Linked DNA regions of Homo sapiens: all the other regions are linked to region 1. The links are contacts of gene promoters, found by promoter capture Hi-C in blood cells and fetal thymus (Javierre and others, 2016). All regions are on one chromosome and are shown on one strand. Each heading gives the region's core, a stretch centred on a gene start or on the middle of the fragment in contact. The rest is flanking DNA. Distances are from core to core; before and after follow the strand shown.

Region 1 (3,580 bases), core at 464-2,963:
TTTGTGTGGTGACGGGGATCTGGGAAGAAGGGTCACACACCTTTTGAGGATCAGATGAAAGCTGTAATTCTCTCACCAGGAAAAAGATTCACAAACACAATTTCCCTCAGTTTTACAGGGTTCAGAGACCCCTGAAGCCCTTCTATGTATCGATTCTCCATAAGCCCCCAGGGACCCTCCGAGTTAAGAATGCCTGAATTCATTGGCGATTACCTGATCTCTGACCTCTGGCCCTTATATTATTTTTCTTAAATAAGGCCTCTGCCCTCATCAACAGGGTTACAGGTCTAATCTCGAGTTGACAGGGTCTGTTTCATTTTTTTTGAGACGGAATCTCGCTCTGTCTCACCCAGGCTGGAGTGCAGTGGCCCGATCTCGGCTCACTGCAGCCTCCGCCTCCCGGGTTCAAGCGAGTCTCCCGTCTCAGCCTCCCGAGTAGCTGGGATTACAGGCGTGTGCCACCACGCCCGGCTAATTTTGTATTTTTAGTAGACGGGGTTTCACCATGTTTGCCAGGCTGGTCTCGAACTACTGACCTTAGGTGATCCGCCTGCCTCGGCCTCCCAAAGTGCTGGGATTACAGGCGTGAGCCACCGCGCCTGGCCGACAGGGTCTATTTTAAATGAGTCCCTCTGCCCTTGTGCCATTTGCCTGCTAGAACTCCCCCTCCCCCACTGCAAGCTTTCAACAGTTTGCTCTCTCTCTCTCTGCTCACTCAGAAAAGTCAGTCTCTCCGTGCCCAGTAGATGCAGCCTACAGTAGGCAGGGGCCCAAGATGCCAGCGCAGTCCAGCCCGATGGGAAGCACAAACACAACCCCCCCACCCCGAACGCGCCCAGCCTGGCTCGCCAGCAACTTGGACCGCGCGCAGTGCAATCGCCGCCGCTCCCCCGTTACTCCGGGGCGCGTTTCTCCGGGAACCTTTGCCCCCTTAGGGCCTCTCCTCCTCCCCTGTCCCCTGGGCTCACACCCCGGCAAGCGGCCGCTCCGCTGGGTGCGTGCGGGTGGGCGCGCCCGGGGAGGTGAGGGGCCCGGCCCGGAGAGGGATCCCCTTCGCCACCGTACGGGGCCAGCCTCCCTCTCGCGCCAGGGGGTGTGTGTGGCGGGACGGCGACGTCCCGGGAGTCCTGCCCGCCGGTGTCAGGGCCGGGCGCGCGTGTCACTCCGGGCGAAGAGTTCGGACTCCCGCCGGTTCCAAGTTATCGGAGTGAGCCAGCCCCGGGGCGGACGCGCCGGAGCGCCGGGTGCCGGGACCCGGAGGCGGGGAGGAGCGGGGCAGGAGTGCCCGGCCCGGCACCTACCAGATGAAGTCGGTGCAGTGGCTGCAGAAGGTGGGCTGCTTGAAGAAGCGCGCGATGAATTTGTGGTCCTTCACCTCGTGCACGTTCTTCTGCCTCAGCGCCCCTTTGCGGGCGAAGCGGTTGGCCACGTCCTGAGACGCCGTGGAGTCGTTGCCCGGGAAAACGTCAGCCATGGTCCCCCCCAACCACCTCTTGCCTCCGCCGGGGAGCTGCGGCCGCGGAGGGCCGGGTGGGCGGGGGCGGCGGGGGAGAGGTGCGGGCTCGGGGCGACCCCGGGCGCGGGGCGCGGGCCGGTGGCCGAGGTCGCGGCGAGGGGGCGCGGCGGGGGCCGGGGAGAGTCGGGCTGGTGCTGCGCGGAGCGGGAGCGGGAGCCGGAGCCGCTGGCTCGCCCGCTGGCCCCAGGCTCACTGACAGCCCGGTGCCCGGCGCTCGCGCTTCCTACTCGCGGCGGCAGAGGCGGCCCGGAGCGGCACCGCCCACCGCGCATGCCCCGAGCGCGAGGCCGCGAGGACGAGCGGCGGGGGCGCGCGGGCCGGGCGCGCGCGGGGGTGCGGCGAGGGTGCGGCGGCGGCGGCGCTGAGCGGACCGGACCGAGTGCGGAGGAGGCAGCGAGTGCCTTGCGGTGCTGGGAACACTGGGCAAGGGGAGGCGGCGGCGGCGGCGGCGGCGGCGGCGGCGGCGGCGGCGGCGGCCGGGGGAGGGCCGGCCCGAGTGGGGATGCGGGGGAGGAGGCCGGGAGTGGCGGGTCCGCGCTCCTCCGCCGCCTTTTTCTTTCCTCCCCTTCCTGCGCCCGGCTCTCCTCCCTCTCGCCCTCCTCCGCCTCAGTTCTCCTCCTCTTCTTCCGCTCTTGCCGCCCGGCCTCCTCCTCTCCCGGTCTTCCTTCTCCCACTCCCGCTCTCTCTCTTGTCGACGGGCTCGGAGTCCTGCGCCACCCGTGCCGGGCCGAGAGGAGCCCGCGTCCGGGAGTGGGCTCCACGCGCAGCCCCTGCCCCGGAGCCTCCCGCCCGGTGCTCACCTCCTAACCCCTCAGCACCCGCAGCAGGGAGCCCCTTCCCCATCCTCAGGACCCCCGGTGTCTCCAGGGCACGACGCCCGTGTTTTAGCTGCCTGTACCAGCTTGAGGTTTCACCTGGCCAAAATGTCACTTTCATCACGTGTGCACTAAAAGACCTAGCCCCTAGACCTTCCTACAGGAGGAAGAGAGCGATTTTTAAATAATTAAGCATTGACCCTTTCCCCTACCTTCTCTTCTTGACCTATACCTTATTTCACCTGCGTGTGGTAGAGACTTTTAATTTGTACGTCGGGCATTTATCACCACGTGGGATGGTTAAAGGACTTGTCTTAGGTATTTATCCCGTTATTCAATGGCCACCAGAGCGACGATGTTGATTATCAGGCTTTCTTGATTTTACAAGTCCAGGACCTTAATTTAGAAATCATTTTGCATCCCAAGCTAATTACTGCAATACTGTCAGGTGCAGAGTGCAGCCAGTACGTTTGTAACTTACCAAGTAAAACTGCCTGTGAAAGAGTAGCGGGCATGGCTATGCAAAGGACGCAGGTGGGGATGCACCAGCTAATCACTCGCTGAATATTTATCAGGTCTGCCTGGAGGCCGCTAAAATACATAAGGGAAATAATCATTTCTCAGCGTTTCATTGGTGTTTTGTTTTATTTGCCAGATTCACGAAATCCCCAAAACGACTTTACGAGCTAAAGAGACCAAGAAAGAGAACACGTTTGATCCTTCAATAAATTTATGTTGAAAAAAAAAACTTTTCTAAAATACTTTCTTAGAGCATGTAACATAGGCCAAGTAGAGCTAATATTGTTTTCTTTGAGATTGCCTAATTGTGATGCTTGATGATAGGAATGTCCTTTATATTTTTAACAAATGGAAGCTCTCCTGACTGGCCGTCAGTGGTGCATGCACTTGACTGATCCATTTACAATCTCTTGAGCCAGTCTTGGTGCTTCAAGAGCCTGCACCTGCCTGGTATTCTAGCTGGTCAGAAATTTCGCCACTCATGGTCGCCCCTCGGGTCCAAGGAGTCAAAAAGGGAAGAAGCAAAGAGGAATGAAGAGCAGGGCATGTTGGGGAAATAGTCCCAATTCTCCATGAAACACTAGAAGCATCTCAAGCCATGGTGGTTTATTGCTTGAAAGCAGAAATCAAATGGAACATAGTGGAATGAAATAATTTCTTTTCTCATAGTCGTCTTTTATCTAAGACGGAGATCCTGGCACATTTTACAAAGACAAGCTTATTTCTATGT
Region 2 (3,580 bases), core at 757-3,256, 350 kb before region 1:
CTGCACTTCCGATGTGAAGCTGTCACCTGCTGCCTCCCCAGGGCCACTGAGGCTCCCCTTCTCCCAAACTCCCACTGCAGGTACAGCACCCGCCAATTCTTTTTCATGCCTGAATTCTCCCCCAAAGACCACACAGTCTGTGACACGGTCTAGGTCTTAATCATCTTAGCATCCCTGGTGCCAGGAAGAGAGCAGGACACACGCTCAATAATGTATGATCAATGGGTGAAGCAAAAAAAATGAACGATTATCATACAAAGCTGAGGCTCATTTCCTTCATTCTGTAACAAATACACCATGGTAAGGTGGAAGAACACACAGAGGGAATATTATTGTTTTAATTACAATAAGATGAGGGTGAGTCTCCATATCTGCAGGGGTGACAGACATCAAATCGCGCAGGGCCCTAGGTAGGCAGGAGGAGTCTCTGGGCCGTAAGAGCTGGGAGGAAGTCTTCCCCTCCCCGACCAGAGTTCAGTTTAAAACTTCAATCTCCACACCAAATTAACAAACTCAAGTTGTTGAGAAAATTAGACTCTTCTTCAGAATAATCTATCTGTGGGAGAGACGTGCTCCTGAAACAGCTCTAAAGCACCCGATATTTTTTCCATTTACTTACAAGATTAAATTGAAAATTGGTTCCCATGAGGGATTTTTTTTTTACTACTCCTATAAACCGAATTTACAAAACACACTAGAGTGTAGAAAACCTATTACAATCTCCTATCAGAAGAAGAAAAAAAAACCCCGACACCATTCTGATAATATCAGCACCACCGCCCAAAGGCAAAAAATAAAAATACACCACCAAAGCTCGGGGCTTTCCCATAAATACCCCACCAAGCTAGAAAGAAAACTCATCTCTGACTGCAAACGGAGGTTTCCATCCTGAAGCAGAGCTCCTGTCGGGAGTTTCTACGTTACTTTGGGAATTATCTTCAACCTGAGTGATTCTACATAGGTAAGACACAGTTTGAACTAACCTAGCAATTAACACAGCTGCTCAGGGTTCAGGTTTAAGTGCATTTTCTGAGAAATCACTCGCATCTGGACCATAAACTCTGCATGTGATGGCTTATGGTTTATATTTGTGTTCTCATGAAAGCCACCACCAGGCTAATTCCCACAGCCCTCTGACTCTCTCAATCGGAGCTCTCTTCCCTCTCTGTCTCTCAAATACCTACAGTATTCAGTCGGCTGCTTCTCCACAGGGTCCTTCCCTCTCTGTCCCCTTCCCCACCCTCAGTACCTCCCAAGGGTGTGCTATTTCATCACCATGTACTTGGTATTTAATTTTACTTGGATATGGGTTGTTCTTTGTTCTCTTCTTGTGTTACTCTTTTCTCCCCTGGTTTTAAGTCCCATGTTTGGACCTTCCGTGACCTCAAAAAACTTTGTGGGGTGCTGATTGTGGGTTCAGCAAATATTTATGGGTTAATTGTTTGTTCCAAAGGAGACTCTAATTAATAAGAGAGACTTGGAACATTCATAGCCTATGCACTGAAAGCAAGAGTGTGGAAGCCAGGCCCGGGCTGCGGCCCCAACTACATCACTTTCCACCTTGTAACTTGGAGCCATTTCCTTCCTTTCTCTCAGCTCCTTTGCTCATTTCAAGAAGGAGGATAATAATAGTATTTACTTCATGGGATTGGTTGGGGAGTCAATGAAGCAATGAATATAAAATGCTGAGCATAAAGGTCCAGTCCTATGAACAATAAATATAGAGCAAGCACTCAATAAATGGTAGCTATTGGTATGAAAACATTTCTCAAGACAAACCCATGCCTGAACTATTTGGTTGGGAGAAGGTGCAGGCAGATAATGGGCATGGGGGTGCCACCCATCATTGGCAAGCACTGCCCCAAGGGGGCTCTGCTTAGTACCACTTGTGGTCCTTTTATACTGAAATAAGATGAGTCTGATGTCTTCTATTTGGCTCTTTAAAAAAATTCCTAGTAACTAATGCGGGTACCTATTTTTTCTTTCTTTCTTTTTTTTTTTTTTTGAGATGGACTCTCGCTCTGTCGCCCAGGCTGGAACGCAGTGGCACAATCTCGGGCTCATTGCAACCTCCACCTCCTGGGTTCAACCGATTATCCTGCCTCAGCCTCCTCCTGAGTACCTGGGACTACATGCGCATGCCACCATACTTGGCTAATTTTTTGTATTTTTAGTAGAGATGGGGTTTTACCATGTTGGCCAGGCTGGTCTCAAGCTCCTGACCTCAAGCGATCCACCCGCCTCGGCCTCCCAAAGTGCTGGGATTACAGGTGTGAGACACTGCACCTGGCTGTAAGCACTTATTTTTCATAAATTTATCAGGTACTATAGTTATACAAGGGCATTAACATCGGGGGTTGCTGGGTGAAGGGTGTACGAGAACTCTGTACTGTGTGTGCAACTTTTCTGAAAATCTTAAATTACTTTAAATTAAAAATGTTAAAGATGTAATTACTAATTAGTTATTTCCTTGAGCCTGACTTTCCATACTTAACATTGGATTCCCTTCACACACATAACTGTACTTTAAAAATAGATTCCAATTCTTATGGAAACTGTCATCAAAATATCTTCTCTCCGCATGTGCCATTTAAATATTTAGCCATCCAATTTACCATCTGTGTGACTCTGGGTGAGTCACTTCATTTCCTTGTATCTCCGTTTCTTCATCTATAACGTAAGGATAATAAAGTCAACTTCTTCACAGATTTGAATAAAAGTTAGTACATAAAGTACTTAGAAAGCGGTCCTGTGGAGGAAGCACTGAATAGCTGTGAGCTGCTGCTACTATTTGCTGTGGTCTGAATTCATATCTTCAGATTGGATTCCCGGTGTGATAGTATTAAGAGGTAGGGCCTTTGGGAAGTAATCCTTTCGGGATAACCTTCAACCAAACGCAGAGCCTTATAAAAGAGATGACAGGGAGCAAGTTCGCTCCTTGCACCATGTGAGGACACAGCCTGCCCTCCTTCTGCCATGTGAGGACACAGTGAGAAGTGCCATCTATGAAGCAGAGACGGAGCCTTCACCAGACACTGAATCTGCTGGGGCCTCGATCTTGTACTTCCCAGCTTCCAGAATTGTGATACATCAATTCCCATTATTTATAAATAACCCAGTCTAAGGTATTTTGTGATAGCAGCCTGAATGGAATAAGACATTATTATTATTATTATTAATTAAACTTGCTGAATTCACATTCCTAGAGTGGAGCTATAGCTCTACAAAAATTTTTAAACTAATTCTCAAGGGACTTAGCCCAGAGAGTTGGCATAAGCAATACTGGCTGGCTTTCACATGCAAAAAGTCGACATCCAACCCAGTGAAAGGTCTTGTTCCTTAAGCTGACTCTACAATTGTGAGTCAAGTTCAACTTTTGGCAATGGTAGAGGAATTAGCCTGATGTAAGCTCTAGCACGATAAGGCCTGACCTTTGTCTTCCACCTGTGTACCTGTGCCACCCCAGCCAGAGCATCTGTGCTCTCTATGCAGTTTTAGATCTGCAAGGCTCTTGAGGTTTATAGGAGATACTGGAAGGTTCCGGCAGTACCATATGGTTGCTGCTTTTATTACAGAAGAC
Region 3 (3,580 bases), core at 427-2,926, 310 kb before region 1:
CTCATTTCCAACATCCTGAAACAGAGCTAATCCCTTGGAATTTCCTGGGTGATGGGAGTGTCTTTTGTTATCATGGGGTGACTCTGGGTGGGTTCCTGGATACAGGCTGGTCACTGGAAAGACCAAGCCATGACTAGAAGCTTGAAACTTTTAGCTCTACTGCTCCCCAGTCTCCAGGAAGGGGTGAGGGTCTGGAGATGGAGTGAATCATCAGTCATGCCTGTGTGAGAAGGCCTCCATAAAAGTCTCTGGACTTCAGGGTTCAGAAAGCTCTGTTGATGGTGGGTCCGGGGAGGCCATGGAAGCTCTGGGCCCCTCCTCACATCCCTTGCCCTGTGCATCTCCTCCACCTGGCTGTTCATTTGTATCCTTTGTAATATCCTTGATAATAAACTGGTAAATGTAAGTAACGTGCATTCCTGAGTTCTGCGAGCTGTCCTAGCAAACAAGAGAACCCTAAAAGGGGGTCAATTTGTAGCTAAATTGGACATCAGCTATGGGTAACCTGTACTTATGAGTAGTGTCTGAAGCAGGGATGGTGGGGGGCAGTGTTGTGGGACTGAACCCTTATCTTGTCGGACCTGATGCTATCTCCAGGTAGATAATCTCAGAATTACACTGAACTATAGGACACCCGGTTGGTGTCTGCTGGAGAGTTGCTTTGTGTGTGGGTGGGGGGCAACATCTCTCCACATTTTGGTGACCAGAAGCACTTTGTGTTGAGAGTACAGTAGGAAAAAACACTTGTTAGTTTGTTTTTCCTGCAATACAAATTCTTGTTTTCACTGACAGTAAAAAAAAAATAAAATAAAGCCTTGCCAAAACCAAACAAAAGCCATGGTAGCCCCAGTGATCATTCCTTTAGTCTCAATTAGGTGGTATTTGTCTTTTTCCTTCCCTTTTTTTCCCCGTTCCCTTCCTCTTTCTTTCCTCCTCACGTTGACTCTCGGGGTTTCTGGTCAAATCATTCAGACAATTTGACACATTTTTAAGAAAACTGGCCAGCTGCCTGACAAAATCAATAAGATATATTTACATGACAGGCAACTTATCTATACACTGTGGTAAAGAGCTTTAGAAGGTTAAGTCAGACCGACAGGACTGATCGATGATTGGCAATAGGCAAAGTCACAGTACCATTGTTTTAATTTTCCAGGATGGAGCTGGTCTCTCCGGTTTGCTCAATAGACACTGCTTCATATAGACACGCATTACACTTTTCAGCACCTTTACTGCTCATTCATTCATTCATTTACCAGTGGCCTCACACACTAACTAGCGGCAAAGTAGTAGCCCCGTAACCTATGTTTGAAAAGCCAATAGCTACCTTGAAGTCCAATGGAATGGGTTTAAAAGGATCTTAGAAAAATGTGTGAAGAAAGAAAAACATCTCAAAAACACTCAACACTCCTCTGTGTTTAAAAAAAAGTAAGTGAATCATACAAGTCAGATTTATTAATTCTCTTTTAAAATGCTAAGAAGGTCAGCAAAATGATTAGTCTGAGGAGGCCATGAGGAGTTAAGGGCTTAGGCCTATGGGGCAGAAACAGGAGTTCTAGATCCTATATGAGTTCTTCATTCACGCAAACTGCATGGCCTCGTTCGCCTTCCTGTTCTCACCTGTTAAGGGGGAGAGGCGGATTGATTGTGCTGCCCAAACCTGGCTGATTTTCAGGATCACCTGGGAAGCTGTTATTTAATCTTTTTTAAAAGTCTTTTCATTATGGAAAATTTCAAATACATGCAAAGAGCAGAGAGAATAATGGATCCCTAAGTACCCATTACCAGCTAACACAACAATCAACTCTTGGCCTATTTCTTTTCAGGGAGAATAGCTCTACGCTCTTCCCTCCTCCTTCCCAACCTTCCTGGAGACCTTTATGAGAACAGATTCCTGGGCCATACTCCGTGGGTGTCTCATTCATCACGTCCATAACGAAACTGGAGGATTTTTGTTTGTTTTCTTCCTAAAGAGTCAGGTTTGGAAACCAGTGATCTGGAGGACCCCTGAATTCCTTTTCAGCAACAAATTTCTATCGTATAGGGTATACAAAACAACAAATGCCATTAAGTCCAGTTTGTGAAAAAATAAAAATGAATTTAATGTGCAGCATACATAATTTATAGTGCGTTAGGCCACTGATGGGAAAATATTACTCATTAAAATTTAAGTAAAATTTAAGTATGGATCTGGACCTTCAAGAAAGAAAAAGTTCTGTTTAATGCAGGCTTTGGAGAAACCCCAAGTTTTCCTGATTTTAGAACTGCAAATTGTAGATCATTCTAATGACTTGCTTGGAACCAGAGTGAGGCCCTCCACTCCACCACCAACAAAGTGATGATTAGGTAAGTGGGAACACTGCACAATAACCAAGCTCCAAAAGCAAAAGCCAATTGGTGTGCTCCAATCGGTGTGCTCCAATCAGTGTGCTTCAGTCAGTGTGCTCCAATCGGTGTGCTCCAATCGGTGTGCTTCAGTCGGTGTGCTCCAATCGGTGTGCTTCAATGTATTCCAAGACCAGCAGACGACAGAAGTCAGGGCCAACCTCTGGATGCAATAATCAGCACCACCAAAACCCTAATGCGTATCACCCACTCAGAAAGTTCCAAACTTGTAAAAACTGTCTTTGGCAATTTTATCTTAAAATGGAAGAGACTTCAGAGACCATGTAGCTACCCAAACAGATAATCCACCACCTCATTTTAGAATACTTTTAACCTCTTTTTACTGAAGGGTATGTGCCATCAAAATGACAACGTCCACTGAATTAAACATACATCCAGAGGTGAAACCTGGTTGATCCTACAGGCATCTCAAACAAACCCTGCACGTTGGAATCTGACTTCATGAGCCCCCGGCCCCCCACACTCTACCAAATACCGGACTGCTTGTGAGAAGCTAACAGAGGGTGGAATCTAGAAACAGCAGCAAAAGCTCTGAGCATAAGCACTCAAGAGTTCCCTGAATTGGCTAAGGAACCAGATGTTGCTACATGAAAATTAACTTTCTTAGTTTGACGCACATTCTTTGGGATCAATATCAAGACATAAGGGAGGAGAAAATGAGGTGGTATTTTCTAAACTGGACCAAAACAATAACTTTAAAAATTAAGTATATTTTTATCTTTAAATATGCAAGGCTCAGATTTTTGTTTAACTGAGGGGATGAAGTGGAGAATCCATGTCTCTTCCCCTCAAAAGGACAAGCTTTTAAAAGGCAGTTCATGGCTTGCTTGCAACAATTCTCCACTTAACTCACTGTATGTCCGATTTTTTCCCACAGAACTATGTAAATTGGGAAAGAAAGAGAATCATTCAACTCTAGAGTGGTTTGGCAAAAGTACAATTAATGAAAGGTGTTTTAAGCATATTTTTCTCTTATGGTAATAAATGCTTCATTAGTATTTTAATTTAAAGGTCAGCCAAGAGAGCCGGCATCTTTTGATTTTTACCGATTGAAATAATCTGCAAAAACTTAATATTCTAGGAAGCATAACTCTTAGAAATATAAGGTCTATTTATAAAAATGTTTTAAAACTTAAAAGTAATTGCATTACAAAATAAGAAATGAAAAAATTTC
Region 4 (3,580 bases), core at 340-2,839, 290 kb before region 1:
GACGCCCTCGTGCACGCTCTGAGGACGGCATTGGGAGTACTGTGTATATAACATTTACACAGAGCTTCACAGTGGCCGAGCACTCTTCCATCCATTATGTGCCTTGCATCTCATGGCTGTGAAGCAGAGCAAGCTACAGGTATTATTCTCCACAACTAACAGGGGTGGAGACTGAAGTGCAAGAGGTTTTGTGGCTCACCTCAGATACAGCAAGGGCTGTGCTTTTAGTCAAGGGAATCATGTTATATCATTCAGACAGAGGGCTGATGTGTGGAGAGGGGAGCCAGGGGTATTGTCTCCAGAGAATTTCAGGCAGTTGACATCTACCTCCTGAAACTGGAGACCAACCTCCTCCCTCCTAGGGTCAGTTTCCTCATGTCCTGAGCCTGCTGCCTCCTGCCCAGCTGCCAGTGTATGGCCCCCAACCCCCAGGCCATGGACCGGTGCCTGTCCATGGCCTGTTAGGAACTGGGGTGCACAGCAGGAGGTGAGCGGCGGGCAAGCAAGCATTACCGCCTGAGCTCTGCCTACCGTCAGATCACCGGCGGCATGAGATTCTCATAGGAGCACAAACCCTATTGTGAACTGCACATTGAGAGATCTAGGCTATGCCCTCCTTCTGAGAATCTAATGCCTAATGATCTGAGGTGGAAAGTTTCATCCTGAAACCACACCACAACCGGGTCCATGGAAAAATTGTCTTCCATGAAACCAGTCCCTGCACCAAAAAGGTTGAAGACTGCTGCCCTAGACCATGAGCCCCTGACACAAGGGAGTGAGATCATCTTATCATCTTCGTATCCCCAATTCATGCTCAGTAAGTTTCCTCCAAATGAGAGCCCCAGACAACTGCCCCTCCCCATTATGCTAAACACCTGTAGGGTATACAACAAAAGTCGCAGAGATCAGTGTAACTTTCACCCTGCAATTCCAGGTCTTAGATTTTGGATGTTCACAAACATCCATGTACAAGAAGGTTCACTTAAAGATTGCTCCTTATAGTAAAAAAATGGAAATCAGCCACATATCCAACAAAAAAGATGTTTTAAAATCTTCAAGATAACAATGGAATACTACACAGCCATTAAAGCTGCCACTGTAGGAGTGTATGCATTAACCTAGGAAGACTTCTGAGACACGTATTGTGTAAAAAAACCTACAATCTAAAATAAGTATTTTATGATCACTTTAGTTATATGATATTCACATACTCATATGTATTAGAAAAAGTTTAACAGGATATATTTCAGGGTACTAACAGCCGTTATCTCTTGGTGGACAGAATTGTGCTTTTTGGTGGGTTTGTAATGAAATGAATTGCTTCTAGTTTGGGAGGATGGGAGCTACTCACCCATGAGCTGGTAGGTGTCAAGAAGCTAGTCTAAGTCTTTTATGGGTCATAAGAACTTAAGATCCCATGACCTGGAAGTGGGCAGACTTCACGTTCATCTGGGACTTAGGTAATTGTAAGTATCATTACCTAAGGTATCAGCAACTTGTTACTAAAGTCTCAAACAAGTGACCCTGGAGAACCATCAAGAACAAAGGCAAGTCCCTAAAGGTGATGCCTTAAAAAGGCAAAGCAAGACCAGTGCAGTGGCTCATGTCTGTAATCCTAGCACTTTGGGAGACTGAGACAGGTGGATTACCTGAGATCAGTAGTTCGAGATCAGCCTGGGCAACATGGTGATACCCTGTCTCTACAAAAATGCAAAAAATCAGCCGAGCATGGTGGTGGGTGCCTGTAATCCCAGTTACTCAGGAGGCTAGGGCACTAGAATTGCTTGAACCTGGGAGGCAGAGGTTGCAGTGAGCTGACATGGTGCCACTGCACTCCAGCCTGGGCAACAAAGCGAAACTCTCAAAAAAAAAAAAAAAAAAAAAAAAAAAGCAAAGCAAAATAAAACCTCAGAAAGAAATAAAAAAGGCTCATGTAATGATAACTGCATATATGGGAACTGTAATGATTCATTAGTTTAACACACCACCAACTTGTCTCAGGAGCAGAACAAATAGACCCTTTTACAGATGCTTCTATTAAAGGTTGAATGCTCTTCCCTATTTCTCATTTTTCTTTCATCAAAATATTTTATGAAAATGTCAAATCCCAGCAGAAGATAATTTGCAACTTATATCAACAAAAAATTAGTATCCAGAATATGTAAGGAATTTCTACCAATCAGTGAGTAAAGCATCACCTCTCTTCCTCATGCCCCAAAACAGGAAGGAGGAAAAAGGTGCTAGAGATATAAACAAACAATTCACAGAAGAAGCAACACTGATGGCTAATCAACCTATGAAAAGGTGTTTAACCTTCCCAGCAATCACAGAGAGGCAAACACCTGCTCTTTCACCCCAGCCACATGGAATCTTTTTGGTCAACCTGATAAAAGCATTTATTGGTAAGAATTTGAGGAAGTAGAATCCTCCAACACTGCTGGTGGAATGTAAATTGGTTCAGACACTTTGCAGAGCAAGTTGCCAAAGCTAGTAAAGTTAAAGATACATATGACTGGCAGTTCCCCTTCTGAGTACACCCCAGACCTAGGGGAATTCTCACATAGGAGAATCTCACAAGAAGAGCTACTGCAGGATATATATATATATATATATATATATATATATATATACACACACACACACACACACACACACATACATATGTATATATGTATATGTAGATACACACATATACGTATATATGTATACATATACACACACATATACGTATATATGTATACATATACACACATATACGTATATATGTATACATATACACACATATACGTATATATGTATACATATACACACATATACGTATATATGTATACATATACACACACATATACGTATATATGTATATATACACACACATATATGTTATATATATCTATATATCTATATCTATCTAATCAATCAATCTATCTATCTATCTGTCTATCTATCTATATATATATCTGTTTAAAAGAGCAGAAATGTGGAAGCAATCTAGCTGTCCTCCATTAGGAAAACGAACCAATTACTGTCATCATATATAACAAGTAAAATGAATGAACTAGATCTACATAAATCAATATGGATAAATCTCAAATCTATCAGGTTGGACAGAAAACAAGTTTCAAACGAATCTGTAGAGTGTAATACAATTTATATAAAATGTAAAACAACACAAAATGATGCTAGATTATAAGCTAGACAGATTTGCACATGCTGAAAAAGTGTACAGTAACACTGCACATCAACTTTGGGATACCTTGGAAGGAGAAGGATATAAGGGATGATAGTCCCCAAAAAATAACTTAAAATTAGCCCTAAGAAAACATTGTGTTAGAAAGAAATGTTCATAGAACTGTAGGAAAACGGGAAGAGATCAGACCTTAGTGATACCAGGAAACATACTATCACGTTCAACATCCATGGCCCCAGACCTGGATTCTGTTCATATTCTATCCCAGGAGGACAGACATTGTGAGGTTTCTGAGTAGACACTAACCACTGCCTGGACTCACAGAGACCATTCATAATGGCATCGTAGGAGCAACATGGCGGCAATAAAAGTTAAAAATAGGCCCTTCACCAC

What was found. The method cuts DNA at HindIII sites, captures the fragments that hold promoters and counts their contacts. A CHiCAGO score of 5 or more calls a contact.
Region 2: a contact is called between a fragment that was not itself captured here and the fragment with the promoter of PRKCA in region 1, in 1 of 17 cell types (endothelial precursors). The highest score is 6.1, in endothelial precursors.
Region 3: a fragment that was not itself captured here is called in contact with the fragment with the promoter of PRKCA in region 1 in 1 of 17 cell types (endothelial precursors); the score reaches 7.6 in endothelial precursors.
Region 4: a contact is called between a fragment that was not itself captured here and the fragment with the promoter of PRKCA in region 1, in 2 of 17 cell types (M1 macrophages and M2 macrophages). The highest score is 5.3, in M1 macrophages.

The regions. Positions count from the first base shown.
Region 1 is chr17:66,300,746-66,304,325 of GRCh38, reverse strand. It overlaps PRKCA (protein kinase C alpha), which reads right to left and starts at 1,713. Exons shown (of 17, transcript NM_002737.3): 1 at 1,302-1,713. The coding sequence starts at 1,474. RefSeq lists an enhancer at 418-919. The HindIII fragment of the contact is 2,886 bases long and covers 684-3,569 here.
Region 2 is chr17:66,647,523-66,651,102 of GRCh38, reverse strand. The region is part of intron 5 of PRKCA (protein kinase C alpha); the gene reads right to left. Among named protein-coding and RNA genes, the nearest start is that of MIR634, 140 kb to the left of the region's middle. The HindIII fragment of the contact is 4,812 bases long and covers 1-3,580 here.
Region 3 is chr17:66,607,016-66,610,595 of GRCh38, reverse strand. The region is part of intron 3 of PRKCA (protein kinase C alpha); the gene reads right to left. Among named protein-coding and RNA genes, the nearest start is that of MIR634, 180 kb to the left of the region's middle. The HindIII fragment of the contact is 3,067 bases long and covers 143-3,209 here.
Region 4 is chr17:66,586,946-66,590,525 of GRCh38, reverse strand. All of the region lies in intron 3 of PRKCA (protein kinase C alpha), which reads right to left. Among named protein-coding and RNA genes, the nearest start is that of PRKCA-AS1, 170 kb to the right of the region's middle. The HindIII fragment of the contact is 4,365 bases long and covers 1-3,580 here.